Regions from separate parts of the Homo sapiens genome. Here all the other regions are linked to region 3. The links are contacts of gene promoters, found by promoter capture Hi-C in human tissues and cell types (Jung and others, 2019). All regions are on one chromosome and are shown on one strand. Each heading gives the region's core, a stretch centred on a gene start or on the middle of the fragment in contact. The rest is flanking DNA. Distances are from core to core; before and after follow the strand shown. Region 1 overlaps GLI2 (GLI family zinc finger 2). Region 2 has its middle 43 kb from the start of GLI2. Region 3 holds the start of GLI2 (GLI family zinc finger 2).

Evidence for each region. The method cuts DNA at HindIII sites, captures the fragments that hold promoters and counts their contacts. A contact is called where the count stands out against the background at its distance.
Region 1: a fragment that was not itself captured here is called in contact with the fragment with the promoter of GLI2 in region 3 in 2 of the 25 tissues and cell types used here (IMR-90 fibroblasts and mesenchymal stem cells).
Region 2: a fragment that was not itself captured here is called in contact with the fragment with the promoter of GLI2 in region 3 in 1 of the 25 tissues and cell types used here (small bowel).

The regions. Positions count from the first base shown.
Region 1 is chr2:120,784,373-120,788,682 of GRCh38, forward strand. All of the region lies in intron 1 of GLI2 (GLI family zinc finger 2), which reads left to right. Among named protein-coding and RNA genes, the nearest start is that of GLI2, 51 kb to the left of the region's middle. RefSeq lists a silencer at 1,401-1,695 and enhancers at 1,715-2,637, 3,560-4,310. The HindIII fragment of the contact is 4,739 bases long and covers 1-4,310 here.
Region 2 is chr2:120,690,361-120,694,839 of GRCh38, forward strand. No RefSeq gene overlaps it. Among named protein-coding and RNA genes, the nearest start is that of GLI2, 43 kb to the right of the region's middle. The HindIII fragment of the contact is 6,383 bases long and covers 1-4,479 here.
Region 3 is chr2:120,734,241-120,738,788 of GRCh38, forward strand. GLI2 (GLI family zinc finger 2) reads left to right here and starts at 1,628. Exons shown (of 14, transcript NM_001374353.1): 1 at 1,628-2,045. LOC124906073 (a long non-coding RNA gene) reads left to right here. Exons shown (of 3, transcript XR_007087219.1): 3 at 1-610. LOC124907881 (a long non-coding RNA gene) reads right to left here and starts at 3,421. Exons shown (of 2, transcript XR_007087221.1): 1 at 2,321-3,421. RefSeq lists enhancers at 257-904, 1,544-1,713, 2,832-3,332, 3,333-3,833, 4,240-4,548. The HindIII fragment of the contact is 8,822 bases long and covers 1-4,548 here.

The sequences.
Region 1 (4,310 bases), core at 800-3,299, 51 kb after region 3:
TCATCAGACAGGTGTTTTTTGAAGGGGAAGGGCATGAATGCAAAGGCCTGACAGGCAGTGTCTGGGGGTTGCAGGCTTCTAGAAATAACATAAAGGGCGAGTCCTGAGTTGGTGGCAAGTGAGGCTGAGGGGGCAGGGAGGGCACAGGCCTTGGGGGTTTTGGGGGCCCAGATAAGGAGTTTGAATGTCATTCTGCAGACAGTGGGGAGTCCCGAGGGGTAAGCACACCCTTCCAGTCTGCCGGACACTTGACTTCCAGGACTCAGAGCTACAGGCTTCCATGCTTGCCCTGCCTCCTGCTCGCCCCCCAGACACAGCCTCCATCTGCTGTGGTCCTCTCTGCTTTAGCAGGCCTTTCTGGACCGGAACTGTTCTTCCTTTGAAAATGCTCACTCATCCCTGCCTCCAGGAAACCTTCCTTGACTCCCTCAGGTTAGCAAGACTGGTAGCCCCCCAGAGCTTATCCCTGCTAGGAGGCTTATTCTGGGTTGGCACGGCCTGTTTCCTCTGATGCCGGTCTCCCCACCCCACACCTGGACTGGAAGCTCTGGGGCGGTAGTACTGTGTTTCCCTCACTTCTGTGGTCAAGGATGGAGACTCAAGATTGGCACACAGTAGGCCCTCAGGAAACCTGTGCCACCCAAATAAAGAACGTCGAGCTTGTCTCAAGTCACGGAGCTGGTCAAACCCTCCTGGCCTCCTTGAGCCGGCGCATGTCCAGGCTGCAGCAGACCACATTATTGGATCCGGGTCCCAGACACCTGGCCTGGGCTGCGATGAGGTGGCTGCCAGGAGGGAGGGAGGGTGGCTGAGGGCATGTGGCCTCCTGGGCATGCAGAGGAAGGCCAGGGCCTGGGAGAGACTGGACCAGGCAGGAGCGAGGCTTATCCAGGGCCGGCTTAGCACGTGAGCTACCTCCTACCTCATCATGAAGATCCCAGCTGAAGGCAGGGCACTCCTGTTGGCTTCATTGCAAGGAAAAAGTGGTGTTCTACTGGCCAGGGTGGTGCTGGCTGTTGGTTGCTGGCAGACTTGGAGGAAAGCCGGTGGCTGAGGCTGGCAGAGGCACAGACAGAAGGGCTGGGTGCAGGCATCACCTGGGAGGTGTGGGGAGGGCTGCAGCTGGGCAAGTTGGAGCAGGAGACCAAACCAGGAGATGCCAGGGCCACACACCAGCCCGGTTCTCCCTGGAGCCTCGAGAAGCAGAGCTACCACCCTGGATCTGCAGTCAGCACTCCCACCCCTGCCCTGCCCCTGCCCCAAGCCCAGCACCACCCATGGAGAGGGTGACCTCAGGCCTTGGAGATTGCTGGCTCGTGGCTGCAGGTGGCTTGGATCCATGCACTTGGATCCTGGTATGCTCCCCTCACATGTCAAAATTCCTGTCTCCATCCAATCATGGCATAACACTGTACTCCCTGGGGGTCCAGCCTGCCTATCTCACACCCAGAGTTGCACTGCCAGTCTGGGCTGGGATAGCGATGTGGTTAACTGCAACCAACTGCTGTGGTTATAAACCAGGTAAGGGGCCCAGTGACAGCCCCGCTGCATCATTGGCAAAGGACTGCTTGGGGGCTGAGCTGCCCGGGGGCTGGATGAGATGACCCCTGGAGGCCTTTCTGGGTGCCAGACTCTGTCATAAGAGGGAGAAGACAGAGGGGTTAGAAACACGTGGTCTGGGCTTGGGGTGGCTCCTGGCAAGGCAGCCTCACAATCCCAGGATCCGTAAGAGGACAAACTCAGAGGAATCAAAACGCAGCTCTCCCCACCACCCTGGACGGGTCTCAGCGAGTGTCAGAGCCCATCGCCAGGTTCTGAGGAGCAGTGTGATGGGCCAATGGGAGGCTCCTCTCCCTGTAGCTTGCCCAGAGTCCTGCCAACCAGACAGGGTCCCAGGTCAGCCCAGCTCCTTTCTCAAGACTTTGAGACTTGGTGTCGGTTGGATCACATTGTTTGAAGAGGTGAGATTTGTCCTTGATCTGCAGACATCTCCCACCACCGCCATCATCCCTGCTGTTTGGGTCCTAATTGGAAGAGCCTGGAAAGGCCACCTGCACCATTCCCCTGACCCCAAAATACCACCCCCACCCTCCAACCCCCCGCCCAACCTGCAATTCCACTGAGAAAATAGCTCTTTTGAGTGTGTCAGTGCTCAAAAAGCGCTTTTAAGAGATAAACACTTTTTTATTCATCTTGAAAATGGTTGTGCTTAGAGCTCAGCAGGTACCCAGTTAATATGTATAGGCTTCAGTGCTAAGTACTATGCATGGCAAATCTTTTGCTCTCAAGGGGTTTACAATGTAAGGGAAGGAAGGCATTCTTATGCAGTGCTGGCAAACACTGCCCATGGCAGACAGTACAAGTTGACTAGTGTGCCTCCTGCAGCAGACATTAGAAGTCGATTACTGCACTTTTCCTGACCTAAGAGATAGCCTGATGCCTTCTCCAACCCAGCCCTCCCTTAAAGGTGCCTGTGGGTCTCAGGGTCTAGAAGCTGCTCACCACGTGGACTTTGTGGGGCATTGAAGCCTGAGGGGATGCTCGGAGAAGAAGAGGATTCTTGAAGACTTGAGTGCCTGAGAGCATTTATGTGTTCAGTTCGTCTCTGAGTCAGTCAACAAACATTGATGGTGTCTGTGTCGAGGGTGGCCATAAAGGGACACGGACACGTAAACATGTAGTTAAAACACAATGAGATAGGAGCCTTGACCTTGGCAGGCACACAGGCAAGACAGACCCCTGCCTGGCCTGGCAGGGGGTGGTCCCAGGGAGGCTTCTCTGAGGGGGTGTCATAGTGGGTATTGGGGAACTAGCATTCCAGGCAGAGGAACCGCGTGATCAGAGTCACAGACAGCATGACTGCGGTGGAATGGGGGTGGGGCAGGGAACCTGGGGGTGCAGATCCTGAGGCAGGGCCTTGGGGCCATGACAGCGACTTGGACCTTGTCCTGTGCGCACTCACTGCCTTCATGGTCCTTCGTCCCCTCTCAGAGTCTCCTGCAAGGATTTTCCACCCTCAGTGGCCCTTGGTCCTTGCCCCCACCCCCAACTCCCTGCCTTCTCAGTCTTGGATTAAGGGGGCCTTGGCATGGGTCTGGGTGCCTGTGGCTCCCGTGTGCCAGGCTACTGGGGTCTGTTTCTGATGTCTGCTGCCACCCTGGGCCCCTGAGAGGCCTTCACCCCAGCCCTCAGCCTGCCCGGGGCAGTGTGATTTTCCCTCCTCAGGGCAGAGGCCAGCCTTGTTTTTCCTCCACACTCAGGAATCGCGCTTCAGGAATACACAAAGCAGCTGTTAAAATATCTGGGTCTGGCGGGCCGGCCACACAGTGGGCCCCTTGTTCCCCTTGCAGACAGCGGCCTCAGAGCACGTCCCAACCCTCTGCTGGGTCAGCGGTGCTGGGGGAGTGGTGTCAGGGAGAGACCCTGGACCTCTAGGCTTCAGGGCTCTCCAGGGAGGAAGGTGATGGACAATAGGAATTTAGAACCGAGTGGAACAAGCACATTACAAACAGATGCCAACCCGAGAGTTTAGATGTCAGACTGTAGAGGCGCTGGCACCAGGGTGGGTGGAGGAGGATGCCTGGATGGGACTGTCGTGTCAATTCTTGGACAGAGCCTTCTGTTGGTGGGGCAGCCTCCAGGCACTGCTCAGGGGCAGGCCTTCTCCAGCTGCAGGGATGATAAGGCCAGGCCTGTGTGTGCCAGGCCCCATGTGAGACATTCTGTTTATCCCCACTTAACAGATGAGGAAACTGAGGCTTAGGGAGAAGTTGATTCTTGTCGACAGTTCCTGACAGAGCTGGGAGGTGAACATGGCCATTCCTTCTCCAGAGTCTGCACTCACTGGCCTCCAGCTGAATGTGACAACCACTGACGTGTGCACAGGTGGTGTCAAAGTTCAGTCACAGCACAAAGAGGTTGGTGAGCTCTGTCTAGGACTCTGGGAAGGAGGGTGTGAGAGCAAGCTTTCTGGATTTTAAAGCATGGCATCCTCGGTAGAGCAGAGGGAAGAATGTTCCTGGCAGGAAGGCATGGGGATTGGAGAGGGCCTGCTGGCTTTCAGGGAGTAAATCCCAGTGGAAACAAACGAAGTCTTGAGGCCGTCTCAAATGTCAACCTCAAAGTAGGTCTTACCCACAGCTTCCCAGAGGGAAAAAGTCCTCCTGATACTCATCAACTCTTATCGGAGGCTGGCTGCCCCTGGAGGGGCCTGCATTTCCCATTGGGGCCCTCCCTGGCCCCTGTTCCAGCCCAGCAAGTCAGTGAATTAGGGTTAATTATCTGTTTTCCTGGACACCAGCAGGCCCAGG
Region 2 (4,479 bases), core at 958-3,457, 43 kb before region 3:
CCACAAAACAAGAGTTATGACCTGGTAAAGGTGAGGTGCAAGAACCCCACGAGGACTTGCAAAGAACGCATATTCAAAAAGCGGTTTAGCGGGAAGTGGAGGTCAGGGAGGAGGGGACGGGGGTTTCCTTGGAAAACGTCACTGGGGTGCTGGCAGCTCTTCTTTTTACCAGAAGTCAAAAACAAGGGATGTTCAGGTGACGACTGGAGAGCTGCAGTTTGGGCACAGTAGGCAGACGTCTGAGTGACACCTGAGGAACAGGAAGGATGAGAGAGGCTGCTGGCTGCTCTGTCATGGGGAGTTCCGCGGCACTCAGAGCATACTGGGACGAAAGAGGTTGATGTGGGTTCCTCATAGCTCCTGCCTCAGAAGGCCTCCTGCAGAGGCTAGAGGACATCACCCGGGGAAGACAGACACATGGCTGGACGCCTGGGGGCTACGGAGAGAGTTGTAAGCAATGAGCCAGAGAGCAGCGTTAGAATGGTCAAGGGAAGTTGGAGCTAGAGAGCCGCTGTACCGAAATGCCAGATTCCACCACCTGCCAGCCCAAGTGCCCAACCAACATCGGATCAGCGTGTCAGAATCCCTCCCCCCGGCCCTGCCCCACACACCTCTCCTCCCTCCACCCTCACCCCAGAGCACAGGAGTGACAAGGTGGCGGACAAAGGCAAGGGGATCCTGGAGGAAGGAGAGAAGCAGCTCCACTCCCACCCACCTCCAGGAGGCCAGTGTGTCAGGCTGGGGATGGAGAAGCATGCCTATTAATGAAAGTTTTACTCATTACACTGAACGGAACACATTTATGCAGAACTGGGTCTGTCTTGTATGACTTAAGGGAACCAGAGTACTTTTTATTACCTAAGGGTGATAAGAAAAGTCATGGGGAAATGCCCTGAAATTCACAAAGGGCTAGGCAAAGAATTGGCCCCCAGCGTGGATTTGGAGTCAAGGGGAGACAAAAATTGCATAGCATTATCATTACACTGCTATGATTACATATATTCCATGATGGTTACACTGGAAACATGCCACCCCTGCCTGCATGAGGCTCCTTGTCCTAGCAACCATTCCAGTTTATTCCAGGTTTGCAACCCAGGAGCACTTGACTTCTGCCTTGAGTGCCTCCCTCAACTTGCAGACAGCCCACTGGGCCTTCCTCGGCCTGCACCCTTAAGCATGTCAGGAGAGACAGGCAGCTGCTGGGGCATTGCCATTGGAAGCAGCTGCCAGGAAGGGCACCTGTGCGTTTGTGCTTGAAACCTGATCTGTAACAAAAATGGATTCTGTGCACATCTAGTGTGCTCACCCAGCCCGGAGCACAGCAGCCATCTTGGTAGGGACCACAGCAGCCATGTTGGTAGGGACCACAATGTGTTTACTCCGCCAGCCTTCCAAATCAGACACTCATGTTGCCAATGGTAGTAGGAGGGTGCAACCTCTGTGGAAGGCAGCTTGAGGAATTAAATAATGCCTTTGAATCAGCATTTCAACTTGTAGGAATGTATCCCAAGACAAACTCTTATTAATGCACAAAAACCCATGTACAAGACTATTCATCAGAATACAGTTTGTAATAGCAAAACACTCTGGGAGCAGCCTCAATAGCCATCAATAGGGTGCTGGTTGGATAAAATGAGATAACATTTGGTAAATCCACACAATGGAACGCTGCAGTCATAAAGAAGCTTTAGACGCCTCTCTGTGCAAAGCCACAAAACAACCTCCAAGGTGCACTGCTCATTGTAAACGTGCTCCTCTCTGCTGGCCCTTCTGCTGCGCTGGGCCCACCAGCTGAGACAGATCAAAGCGGAGCCCCAATCTGTGGGGGCTTGGGACCTCTTCCCCTCCATGGAGAATTCTTGGCTCCCACCCTGCTTTTGGGAGTCCTAGGAAGCTGGTGGTGATGCTCGGGTTTGTGGGGTTTTTTTGTTGTTTGTTTGTTTGTCGTTGTTGTTGTTTTTTGAGACAGAGTCTCGCTCTGTCGCCCAGGCTGGAGTGCAGTGGTGCAATCTCAGCTCACTGTAACCTCCACCTCCCAGGTTCCAGCAATTCTCCTGCCTCAGCCTCCCAAGTAGCAGGGATTACAGGCGCATGTGCCACCATGCTCGGCTAAGTTTTGTATTTTTGGTAGAGACGGGGTTTCACCACATTGGCCAGGCTGGTCTCAAACTCCTGACCTCAGGTGATCCACTCACCTCAACCTCCCAAAGTGCTGGGATTACAAGTATGAGCCACCGCACCTGGCCTCAGGTTTGTTTTGATGCCTTTTTATGGGGTTCCCAACTGCAGGGATCCCATAGTGGGGCACCCCCTCACCCCTCCTTCTTCTCTGACTGGCCCTCAACTTCCTCCCCACCCCACTCCCAGCTCTAGCACTGACCGGGAAGGGGTGATTGTGTGCAGCCCACCCATCTTAGAGGCTGACTGAGCAGTACAGGCCCACATTTCCCTCCACACCAAGGTCTCAACCTCACAGCGCCCCAAAGCCTTTCTTCCAGCCCTGCTCAGAAGTTAATCACTTAGGCATCTCGCCACAGGCTCTGTGGAGTCATCGAGTTTGAAGTCAGGAAAAATCCCAAAGGTGGCACCTATCAGCTCTCCCAGCAACTCCAGACCTTCTCAGACCCTGGTTTCGGACACTCAGCCAACACCTCTGACTGTGCCTCTGCCCTGGGTCCCACACCCTCTTCCTGGCACCGGCATCCACTCCTGAGTTAATATGCCCATTGCCCAGCTCTGTCTACTAGTGAGGAGCACAGTTAGGTCCCAGTCTTGGATTTTTAAATACCCTTCTCCACTCAAAGAACCAGGCCTCCCTGGAGAAATAGGTGGTTCCAGGTCTGGGCTGGAAGAGACAAGGCAAATCTTGGATGTCTGGTGCCAGAAACAAGGGTGTTATTGAAGACTAATCAGGGCCAGGATAAACAGACATAGGAAGTTGTCTGATGGGTTTCCACTGACTAATGCTGGGGCCATGAGGACATCAGAAACAATACTGATGGAGATGACACATCGATCTGCCTAACATCACCCTAACCAGGGGATGTCACCAGCATCACTGTTAGTCCAACAACCTGGCCTCATGTGCCTCTGAAGCCATGCACCAAGAAGGACCCCACGTTCCCCACATAGGATTTGTGCAGAAAACCTGATTCTAGTCACGAAGGAAAAAGACCCAACAGAGTCAAAGTGAGAGAATGTCTGCGAAACAATTGATCTGCATGCTCTGAAAATGTCAATGACATGAAGATTTCTTTTTTTAAAAAAAGGCTAGAGAATCCTTTTAATTTTTTTTCTTTCCTTTTTTTTTTTTTTTTTTTTTGAGACTGTCTCTCTCCATCACCCAGGTTGGAGTGCAGTGGCACAATCTGGGCTCACTGCAACCACCGCCTCCTAGGTTCAGGTGATTCTCCTGTGTCAGCCTCCCGAGTAGCTGGGACTACAGGTGTGCACCACCATGCCGGCTAATTTTTGTATTTTTAGTAGAGACTGGGTTTCACCATTTTGGTCAGGCTGGTCTCGAACTCCTGGCCTCAGGTGATCCACCCACTTTAGCCTCCCAAAATGCTGAGATTACAGGCATGAGCCACCACGCCCAGCTAAATCCTTCTAAATTAAAAGGGACTAAAGACAAAAAACCATAACCAGCAAATGTAATATGTGATCTTGATCGGATCCCAGCTCAAAAAAAAAAAAAAATCAGCCATCAAAGACATTTAGGCGACAACTCTGAAAATTTGAAAATGGATTCAATATTAGGTATTACTGAACTGTTGGTGACTTTCTTAAGTACAGTAATGGTCTCATGGTTACAGAGGAGAATATCCCTATTCTTAAGAGATGTCTGTTAAAGAGGGTGAAATGTCACCGAGTCAGCAACTTTCAAACTGACCCACACACATAAAAACATGTGTGCATGCGTGTGTGTGTGTATCTACATATATCTGTGTTACATCTATGGAAAAGGTGGAAAGGAACCAAGCATGACAAAATATTAAGAATTGTAGAATCTAAGTGACATAGACCTGTTGTTTCAACTTTTCTGGATGTCTGAAACCGTTCAACATGAGTTTTGGGAAAAGCCCATCCTTCCTGTTTTCTAAGCAGCAGCTCCCAGAAGAGGCAGGAGCATTTGATAATGTCCTCGGTAATGATTTCATTATTGATTTCATTAATAAGACATCCTGGTGGGAAGGTGTTCTCCAGGCTGCCTGGAAAGGGCTTTTGACGCTGACTGGGCTCAGATGGGCAGAGAAGCCATGATCAGCCCCTCTTCCTTGGGCTGTACCAGGGTGTCAGGTTTGAGGATGTTCCTCCAGCATCCCCCCACGCCCACACTCCCACCTGCTCCAGTGGCAGGGGCTCGGGGGGAAGGCCTTCCAGCCAGTACTCTGATTCAGGGCACTGACATCGCACATGGAAGGAGGTGGGGACAGCCTGGAGAGCACATACAAGGCGCCCCTGTCTCCTGCTCCCAAC
Region 3 (4,548 bases), core at 378-2,877:
CAGGGAGGGTAGCATTGGGTCCCTTGCATTTCAAATAAAATGCAATTTTAGGAACAGGGGCTGAAGGGAGAGACACTTCCACCCACCTCAACAGGGCAATTTTTTAAAAATTTAATTTAATTAATTTATTTTTTTGAGACAGAGTCTCGCTCCATCACCCAGGCTGGAGTGCAGTGGCGCCATCATGGCTCACTGCAACCTCCATCTCCCAAGGGGTTTGAGAGATTCTCCAGCCTCAGTCTCCCAAGTAGCCGGGATTACAGGCGCGCGCTACTATCCCTGGCTAATTTTTTGTATTTTTAGTAGAGACGGGGTTTCACCATGTTGGCCAGGCTGGTCTTGAACTCCTGACCTCAGGTGATCCCCGTGCCTCGGCCTCCCAAAGTGCTAGGATTACAAGCGTGAGCCACCGCGCCCGGCCCAACAGGGCAAATTTAACTGAACTTACAGTACAACCACCCGAAGCTCTGGGAGGATGGCAGAGTGCTCTGACCTTAGACTAGTTACTTAACTTTTTAAAGCATCAGACTTCCCACCTGTAAAAACACGAGAAGAGAACCTTCCTTACAGAGCTGTGAAAGTCCAATAATACAAAGAAAATATAACATCACCTGGCACTTGGTAGAGTGTTCTACAAACGTTAGGAAGAATAAAACCAGAAATTCCCCCCAAGACCCTCTTCGGGTGAGGCCCAGGGGCCCTGGAGAGGGTGGCAGGCCCGGGGGTGTGGGGAGGACACTTTAGCCAGCTGCCCCCAATTCTCCTCCAAGCCTGGCGGCCCAGTTCCGGGCTGTGGTGTGGCTTGAGGGCCCAGGGCTCCTCACTGAGCTTGCTTAAGCAAGTTCTTTCACACACAGCCCCATATACACTTTGGCTAGAAAATTCAATGAGGAGTTTTTTCTTCCTTCTTTCTCTGTTGTTGTTGGGTTCTGATTACTTCCATCTGGCTTCAGCGGCTCGAGTGGAGTCTCTAAAACACACAACACAACAAAACAAAAACCCACCCTGCAAGCCACATGCACCAAACCTAGAAGGCTGCTTCGTTTCTCGCCAGCGTGTGCTCAGATGGCGACGAGGGCTAGCGGCGGCGGGGGACGCCTCAGGACCCCCGGCACCTGCGCTCGCTGCCCGCGGGAAGAGGGTCCGCGTGGACCCAGCCCCCGCGTCCCTTCTCTGGCGTCCCCGGCTTCCGCGCGGGCGTCCAGAGAAGCGGGCGCCCTGGGAACAGCGACCCAGGCATCTCCCCGAGGAGGGAAGTGGGAGGTGGGGAGGGCGGGGGGATTTCAGAGATTGAAAACAGAGCAGCCCTTGCCCCTCAGCTCCGGAGCTCATCTGACTTGAGTTAGCGACACCCCCAACCCCCCCCCCCACACCTAGTCGTCTAAAAAAAGTGTCGGAGATTGGCGCGTCCTTTGGTTCCTTTCTCGAACTTTCCTTGTAGGTGCGTTTTCTTTCCTTGGTGCTGGGTGGGGAGAGTCCCTGTGCTCCCCCTTTCCCCTCCCCCCGCCCCGGCGGCGTTCGGGTCCCCCTGCGTCCCCCGGCAGGGAGCGGGCGGGCTGGCTGGCGGGTTCTTGGGGCCCGGGTGTGCCCGCACCGTGCGCGCGGGGGCGCTGCGCAGTCCGGCGGCGCTGATGGATTGCAGAAGTGCCGGCGCTTGCCAGCCGAGGCAGCACGGCTCCGCGGACTTTTTTTCAAACTCCCATCAATGAGACTTCGAGGAGGAGCGGGCGGCGGCGGCGGCTGCGACTGCGAACGCGGAGGAAGGCCAGGAGCCGCAGGAGGAGCCGGAGGAAAGAGCTTGGGCCGCGCGGCGCGCCGCAGCCTCGGGGAGCCGCCTGCTCGCCGGCGGTAGGGGCTGCGCGGCGCCCGCCCGCCTCTCGGTCCCCTCTCTTGCCTGGCCCGCCCCGCCCCGGCTGGCTGGAGCCCCGGCACAAGGCAGCCAGCCGAGGGTCGCCGCGCCAGCCAAGGTGGGATGGGGGCCCACAGCCACCGCCCGGCGCCCGAGAGGCCACCTGCGTGCTAGAGGCAAACTTTTGTCTCTCTCGGTAAAGTTGCATTGGCCTTCTTTTGCTTGCTTTTCGTGACGAAGCGCCTCCCACCTCGGCCAAGCGCGGGCCGACTGGGATGCTGCGCCGTCTCGGGGGGTCCCTCGGCCGGGTACCGGCGCCTAGGCCTTGGGATCGGGGCCCTGGGCTTCGGGGGACTAGAGGCTAGTAGGCGCGACCCCGCCTGGGGCTCTGGACGAGCAGGGCGGGGACGTAAGGAGAGTCCTGGGGCTTGGAGCTCGTGGCCAGAGGTCGATGTTGCACCCTCTCCCTACCTGGGGGAGAGCACCACTCTTCTCGGGGTGCACAGCGAGCCGGCCTCCGCGCGCCGGCGGGGGTCTGTTTTTTCAGGGGGTGGAGGGTGGGATCGGAGGCTGGGATGCTCCGAAGCTGCCGTAGGTGGGCATGGGAGCGTGTCTGCGGGCGTACTGAGCGCGGAGGGGCTGCAGCCAGCCACTTGAGAACTTCGAACTCCACTTCTCCGCGCTGCGCGTCCCGGAGCCCTGCCTTTCTTTCTTCCTTCCTCAATCCTTCCTCCCCCTCGCCCGGCCCGGCCGCCCCCTCCCCCTCTGCTGGGCTCTCCTCCTCGGCCCCCCCTCTTTGCCTCTCTTCTCCTCCTCTCCTGCCCTCGGCCCTGAGATCCGCTTGACTTCCCAAAGGGATCCGCACGTAATCCTTTGCCGGGTCCTCCGGTTCCCCCTTCCACCTCACTTTCATCCCTGCCCCCCTACTCATCGTCTCTCCCCACCCCCGACAATCTCTCAACAAGTATATTTGCTGAGGAATTTGAAAAATCCACTACTGCAACTTGATCTGTATGTGATGGATGGGGAGAGGCGCGGAGAGAGTTGGGCGCCAATCCTATTAAGGGTTTAGAGAGGGGAGTCTTTTCCCCGGACGGGGCGGGGGCGGGGAGCTGGGAGGGAGCGTGTGCTTGCGTGTGTGAGTGTGAGCGCGCCCGCCGCGCTGGAGAGCTGGGAGTCCACCCAGCTCGGCGCCTTTTCAGCCCGGCGGTAACTGCTGTCATTTCCTAGGAAACCCGACTTTTACCGCGCGGGGAGCTGGGGATGGAGCCCGTGCGCCTCACCCTGGGTGATCGGTCGCTGAGGCTCTCGGGGACCTCGAGCCCCCCCGAGGGTGCCTCTTTCCACTACCTTCTCTTTTGTGTAATTGTTCTGTGGCTCCTAGAGTTGATCCCAGCTGGAAAAGTAGACCTGTCCCTACTGTCTGGTCCCGCGCCCTGGGAGTCTTGTAGGCGTCCCTCTGTCCCCCAGCCCGGGCATCCCGCTCGGTGCGCGACCTCTGGCACGGGCTTTGCAGCTCGGTGGCCGCAGCGGTGTCCCGGGCCCCCTCTCCGCCGCTCTTGCCGGGCGTGTGAAGGTTTAATCCCGACAGCTTCAGATAAAGGGAGCAGTTGTAAAACGCTCATAGGCTGTTTGCAGACGAGGCTCTGGGGGATGTAGGAGAATTTGAAAGTAAACGTTTCCCTCGCAAGCAGCATAAAATAGTGTTTAAACAAATATTGTATTGGCATGCTCAGGGGGCTCGGTGCCAAAAAGTAAAGTAAATAAACTGTGAAATCCAAAATATACAGCGGGGAAAGCGGAGGAATAGGCGGGTTTGTCACAGGCCTCCCTGATGAGACCAGTTTGTTCCAGCCACCTCACCTGCCAGCTTTCTCTCCGCCCATTTCCTTACCTTGCTGGGAGTTCCCTTGGCTGGGTTTCCCTGTGTCTGGGGACAGGCCCTCCCTGGGGCCTGGGAACGGCTTTGCAGTTGCTTGTTTAGGGGGAAGCTCACGGTGTGGCTACCTGGGCCTGACTCCACAGGGACGGGGGGCACCTTGGCTATGCCTGGCTGCTTTGAGTTTGGAGGCTCTTTATTTAGGCTTTTCCCAGCTTCTGGTCTGTCCTGGGGCAGTCATTCTAGAATGTGGAATCCAGATCCATCAGGGGCCTTCTCTTCTTTTTGACTATGCTTCTTGTGCCTCTTTCTTCATCGTTCTTGCTTTTGTTTTCCTAGACTTGCTGCTTCTCTCTTGAGGGTTACAGGAAATTGTGGAGATGTTTTTCCCTGGGATTCGAATTCCACTCAAGCCCAGCCATATGGAAAGTTGTCGCTTGTCTGATGAGTTTTAAAGTTAATTATATTTGGTAAGATTTAGGGTGGTTTTATTTTCTCCTCTGCTTCGAGAAATATGCCAGTTTCACGAAATTGTTTCGTGATTTTAGGGGATTTAAGCTAATACAGGGAAGATCCTGCATTTGAAAGAGCCCAGCTGCCCAGGAGGTATCCCTCAGGTGAACCAGCCTTCAGTTGGGCTAGCATCTGAGTGAGAGACTGTGGTCAGAACGGTCTATTTGCAAAGCCTCTTGGAGAGAATTAGAATTATAGGTAGAAAGAATTAGAATGATAGTAGAAAGAGCCTCCCAAGCCACCGAGGAACAAGGTAAGACTGCTAGAGATGGTTTTATCCTCTGTGGGAATCGATTTGACTGAATTT